2 separate regions of the Homo sapiens genome follow, and region 1 is linked to region 2. The links are contacts of gene promoters, found by promoter capture Hi-C in blood cells and fetal thymus (Javierre and others, 2016). All regions are on one chromosome and are shown on one strand. The core of a region is centred on a gene start or on the middle of the fragment in contact, and the rest is flanking DNA. Distances in the headings are between cores, read along the strand shown. Region 1 has its middle 1.8 kb from the start of MAP3K3. Region 2 holds the start of SNHG25 (small nucleolar RNA host gene 25).

Region 1 (2,959 bases), core at 289-2,788, 530 kb after region 2:
CTAAGCCCCCGCCTCTGCGCATCCCTCTCTGGTGCTGTCTCCCTCTCTTGGGAGAGATTGGGAGGTGTTGGTTGTTCCAATCACAGCTCCGGCGTGAGGCTCCGCCCACATTCCCACCTCCCGTCAGTCACCGAAGGCTCGGCGGGCGCGCGGGCTGGCGCAGTTCCCCGCCGGCTACTTTAGGGCTGGGGTGAGGAGTAGGCGGCTGCAGGGGGCCCTCAGGCCTTCCGCCCTCCGGGTTCTCGGAGGCCCCAGCGATCTGGGTGGTTCCAGAGGGTGGCGTCCTGCTCCTCCCCGTGCCCAGCACAGGGCGTGTAACGAGTGGGGAGGGTCTGGCCTGAGCACTTCCCGGCGCGCGGCCACCTCTGCGGCCCCATCCCCCGACTGGTCCTCCGGTCCCGACGCTGCTCTTGCCCCGGGCAGGGGCGGCCGGCCCAGCCCAGCTTTCCCTGTCTCACACCTCCAGGGCCACACCCTCTGGTCTAGGTACCTCAGACACCCGAGGCTGGGATAGTGCTGGCATGTGGGTCCCTGGAAATCTGAGTTCCGCCAGAGGTTCTTTCAGAAAATAACTTTTTTCTTATAAAAGCAACACGAGCTTTTTGTAGGAAAATTGAAAAATGCAGAAAACTATGAAAAAGAAAAGATCCCACCCCAGAGATAATCTATTTCCTACCTAGATAGGCGTTTGACAAAAATGGCTTTGTATTGTTTTGTAGTATGCTTACATTTTATTCTGTTTTCCCGTGCCACCAAATATCCTTCCAAAACAATTGTACTGATTGCATGATGTTTCAAAATTAAAGGCACCATAATTAATTTCCCCAACCTTTTCATTGTTCAACATTTTATACACTCAGATCTTCAGATTCCAAGTCCACCACAATTAATGTGGGCTCCTTTCTCCGGCCTCTGTTCCAGTGTAATATGTCAGGCTCCAGAATAATCTTCCTCAGATGTCATTGTCCACTGTCCACTAAGAACATTTAGTGGTGGCTTTGCCTTGAGTGTCAAATCCCTTAAGAATTACCTTGGGCTCTCCCCTATTTCTTTTCTTTTTCTTTTTTATTTTTCGAGATGGAGTCTCACACTGTCGTCCAGGCTGGAGTGCAGTGGCGCGATCTCGGCTCACTGCAACCTCCGTCTCCCGTGTTCAAGCAATTCTCCTGCTTCAGCCTCTCAAGTAGCTGGGATTAACAGGCGTGCGCCACCACGCCCGGCTAATTTTTGAATTTTTAGTAGAGACGGGGTTTCGCCATGTTGTCCAGGCTGGTCTCGAACTCCAGACCTCAGGTGATCCGCCAGCCTCGGCCTCCCAAAGTGCTGGGATTACAGGCGTGAGCCACTGCAAGCAGCCTCCCTTATTTCTTTACACTCATCTCCGTATATTTAATCAGCCCCCTTGTCCTGTTTTCTTTTTCTTCCAACAAGCTTAAGCCTGCCATATTCCCACTTGATTTGGTCTCTACCCAGTTTACTGGAGTTCCTTAACTATAATAATCTCTATTCTTGAAAGCGGGGATAAAGGGGAAAGAAAATTAGTATTTATCAATATAACAGGCACGTCATTGCATTTAATTTTTCCAATAACTCTAAGGTTATTATGCTAATACTGTGGGCATTTAAATGATGAAAGTGAAGCTTAGAGAGGTTAAGCACTGTGTCCAAGTAGTGGAGCCAGGATTCATACCAAGCCTGTGTGACTCCCAAAGGCCATGTTCTTGCACTAGGCCAGTGTTTCTCAACCTTTTTTTCATTATCCACCCCTGCCAGGAAAAAATTTTAATTTAAATTACTTAATTAAATTTAAATTCTCCCTAAGAAGAGAAATTAAATACTAAGGAATAAGATTTTGTCAGGTAGAGTAGAGCCTTTGTAAAAAAAATTTTCTGTAGAGTTGGGGGTGTCCCACCATTTTGCCCAAACTGGTCTCAAACTCCTGGGCTCAAGCAATCCTCCCACCTCAACTTCCCAAATTGCTGGAATTACAGGTGTGAGCTGCCATGCTCCTTTCTGTTTTCCCAATTGCTAAAGCACAGATGCTGCTCGACTTACCATGGGGCCATGTCCAGATAAACCATCAGATGAACAATCGTTAAGTAGAAAATGCATTTAATACACCTGACCTACTGAACATCATAGCTTAGCCAAGCCTATCTTAAGCGTGCTCGAACACTTAAGTTAGCCTACAGTTGGACAAAATTATCTAACACAAAGCCTATTTTATAAGAAAGTTTTGAATAGCTCATGTAATTTACCAAATACTGTACTGAAAATGAAAAACAGAATGGTTGTACTCAAAGCACAGTTTCTACTGAATTGTGTGTTGCTTTTGAACCATCATAACGCCAAAAATCATAAGCTGAGGCCGGGGCACAGTGGCTCACACCTGTAATCCCAGCACTTTGGGAGGCTGAGGCGGGTGGATCACTTGAGGTCAGGAGTTCGAGACCAGCCTGACCAACATGGTAAAACCCTATCTCTACTAAAAATAAAAAATTAGCTGGGCGTGGTAGCGCACACCTGTAATCCCAGCTACTTGGGAGGCTGAGGCAGGACAATTGCTTGAATCCGGGAGACAGAGGTTGCAGTGAGCCAAGATCATGCCATTGCACTCCAGCCTGGGCAACAAAAGCAAAACTCCATCTCAAAAAAAAAAAAAAAAAAAAAAGGTATAAGCCGAACCATAGTAAGTCAGAGACCCTCTGTACAAACCTAGGAGTGTTCCTTGATTATTCTCTCTCCCTGACACCCATATATCCAAACATGCAGCAAATCTTTTCAGCTCCCACTTCAAAATGTATCTGAATCAGGTCGGACGCAGTGGCTCACACCTGTAATCCCAGCGCTTTGGGAGGCCAGGGCAGGTGGATCACCTGAGGTCAGGAGTTCGAAACCAGCTTGGCCAATATGGTGAAACCCCATCTCTATTAAAAATATAAAAATTAGCCAGGTGTGG
Region 2 (2,938 bases), core at 330-2,829:
TCGTGTAAAGAGATTACACATGACTGTACCATGTTGCACTTAATCAAATAGTATGTGGGGATTTAAAATCGCTTGCATTGTTTCACAAAATAAATATCTCAATGTCAAATACTAGATAAGCATCTAAGTCATTTCTACGGAATCCTGTTCAGATAGGGGCACAATAAAATGAGTACAGAGCACCGGGGCCCTCACCTGGCAATCGCAGCTTTCATTTACTGCGTTGATCACTGCCCAGTCCTAAGGCTACAAAGCCATCCTCACTACATCCTTCAAACTATGTGCCATTATCTTCAGCCCACATTTAAAGAATCCAGTGAAAGTTCGTAACTGAGGGGGTAGGGCAGTGGTGCTCCTGGGCTGCAGTTTACACCCTTCATTGTCTAGTATAATGTTAATTCGGGACACCTTCATTCATCGAATGTCCATGTAGTGAACGCATACGTGCATCCTTGCCCACCATTGCTGCCCTGTACTCAGAACTGATGCACCTTTCACTGGAGCCCTTGTGGAAGATCTTTTACCAATCACTGAATCTGGACTGTGTAACTAGGTGTCTATGTTGTCCCCAACCATATATAAAATCTAATTCACCTTCACAACCGCCCTATAATTTTGAACTGTTTAGGAGTGACAGATTAACCTGCCCAAAGCTTTAGTCCCATGCTTGTCAGTACTCCTGCATGGTTATTTGTAAACAGGTCGATTACCCTTTAGTCAGGAGTTAACTCAATGCAGTTCCACACCGAATCTGTTTATGTCAAGTACACAACAGCCCTGCAGACGCCATTCCACGCTGCCTTCAACTAAATCTGCGCGTCTGATGGCAGACGCGACAGCCTGGGACTTATGTCGAACTCACGGCGAAGGCACAGCGCGCGCGATACACTCAGGGAAGGCTGGGCTGGGGAACGTATGGGAGCAGAGGGGCACTCCTTACGCATCAAGAGTCCGCGTATCCCCGTCAGCCACCGCCCCCCTAACACGCCATTCCAGCCTTGGTATTACGGATTGAGGCCTGTCGTGGCAAAACAGCTGGAAAATTGCCCAGCCTAGCAGCCGGACAGTCAGGTTACTTCTTGTCGCTCGCGGTTAAAAAGGCCGCCCGCGGGAGGCCAGGCGGCCCCAGTTATGCGCAAGCACATGCTCTAGCGCTGCAGATTGACCCCCGGCGCCACGAGGAAGCTCGGCGGGGGCTCAAAGACAGCGCGTCGCCAACGACACACACCGACACCAGGGTTGGGTTCAAACCACTTTATTGACGGGAATGGGGTGGCAAAGCAGCAAGGACGATGACATCCGACGTCCTCGGCTGGGAGCTACAAGAACGAGAGTGATAGATCAGCGGGTGTGCGCGCGCCCGCCCGCCAGCCCCCTCCCAGCTCCGCTCGGGCAGGCTCAGACTCCAGTTCGCATCACCCGCGTCAGCAGTCTAACACGTGCTTTAATTGGAATGTCATCACAGCAGGCCGGCCCCCCTACGCCTCCCTGCTCCCGAGCCACGACCTCCGGGGCCCACCCAGCCAGACGACCCGCCAGGAATACAACCTGACCTCCCGGAACCTGCAGGCGCTGAAAGACAGGGGAGCGTCGATGGCGTTCTTTTAAAGGAGCAGACCAGCGCTGATGGGCGGGCTTTACTGCCATTAACCAATAGCAAGTTCACCTTGCGACCACGTGCGCGTAAAGTTGTCTGGTGACTGGTAGTCCTTGCTGAGTCCTCCAGAGGATAGATGGGTCACATACCAACCATAGAGATGGGAGTCGCTCAGTCTCAAATCCATTTGCGTTTCAGCGACTCCACCGCCAGCTGGTAATGAGCGCATCTCTCCGCAGTACGCAAAAGAAAACTTCACCAAGAGCAGGCGACGATGATGCCTAACTTGGATGACATGTTCTGTGCCAGGAGCTAGGATAGGAGTTGAGAATGGAAAGTTAAAAACTGTCCCCAAGTGCAAAATAACCTGTCGTGGTAGAAAGAGCTTGTATTGAAAATGGACCGATCTGCACCACATCCTGACTTTGTGATGCGTTCGCTCTGTGACCTTGCTCAGTTAACCTTTCTGAGATTCAGTTTCTGGAAATTAGGAATACCCCCCCGCCGCCCCCCCCCAACACACACACACCGCGAAAAAAAAAAATTGTAAGGATTCGGTGAATTAATGCCAATTGCCTGGCACATTCTAAGTGGTAAACAAAGGTATTTAAAGGGCAGAGTGATGTGAAAAACTTCCTGGGATTGCAAAACTTTAATAAATACTAACATAGCGCTATGAACAGCCTACTGTAGAAGCCCAAAGGACAGAAAGCCTGACTTTGGGAAAGCTTCGCAGAGTTGATTGAGCCTGTTCCCCGGACATACAGGTGGATGAATGATAGTTTGCTTAACTGGGGGAGGACACAGTACACCAGCAGTCACAGTCGCCGGTTATCTTTATTGCCTCCCTGTTTTCCTTGGGAATTCTTTTCCTTTTTTTCCTCTTAATACGGAAAATTTATTGTTTTGTGTGTGTGTGTGTATGTGACAGTGAAATCATTTCACCCTATGGGTTTGTAGTTGAATGGGCTCTTATTTTCCTTATTTTCTATATAGACTTTAAATTCAAAAAATTCCTCTTTGGCCGGGCGCGGTGGCTCACGCCTGTAATCCCAGCACTCTGGGAGACGGAGGCGGATGGATCAGGTCAGGAGTTCAAGAACAGCCTGGCCAACATGGCGAAACCCTGTCTCTACTAAAAATACAAAAATTAGCCGGGCGTGGTGGCAGGCCCCTGTAATCCCAGCTACTCAGGAGGTTGAGGCAGGAGAATCGCTTGAACCCGGGAGGCGGAGGTTGCAATGAGCTGAGATCGCGCCATTACACTCTAACCTGAGCAACAGAGCGAGACTCCATCTCAAAAAAAAAAAAAAAAACCTCTTTAATCCAAAGCAATAATGA

Evidence for each region. The method cuts DNA at HindIII sites, captures the fragments that hold promoters and counts their contacts. A CHiCAGO score of 5 or more calls a contact.
Region 1: a fragment that was not itself captured here is called in contact with the fragment with the promoter of SNHG25 in region 2 in 3 of 17 cell types (non-activated CD4 T cells, total CD8 T cells and naive B cells); the score reaches 6.6 in non-activated CD4 T cells.

Annotation. Positions count from the first base shown.
Region 1 is chr17:63,619,121-63,622,079 of GRCh38, reverse strand. No RefSeq gene overlaps it. Among named protein-coding and RNA genes, the nearest start is that of MAP3K3, 1.8 kb to the left of the region's middle. RefSeq lists a silencer at 353-422. The HindIII fragment of the contact is 210 bases long and covers 1,434-1,643 here.
Region 2 is chr17:64,144,611-64,147,548 of GRCh38, reverse strand. It overlaps SNHG25 (small nucleolar RNA host gene 25), which reads right to left and starts at 1,579. Exons shown (of 2, transcript NR_132278.1): 1 at 1,549-1,579; 2 at 1,240-1,319. SNORD104 (small nucleolar RNA, C/D box 104) reads right to left here and starts at 1,471; the gene lies at 1,392-1,471. It overlaps SNORA50C (small nucleolar RNA, H/ACA box 50C), which reads right to left and starts at 1,210; the gene lies at 1,078-1,210. It overlaps TEX2 (testis expressed 2), which reads left to right. Exons shown (of 12, transcript NM_001288732.2): 12 at 1-322. RefSeq lists enhancers at 1,151-1,360, 1,338-1,892. The HindIII fragment of the contact is 1,672 bases long and covers 656-2,327 here.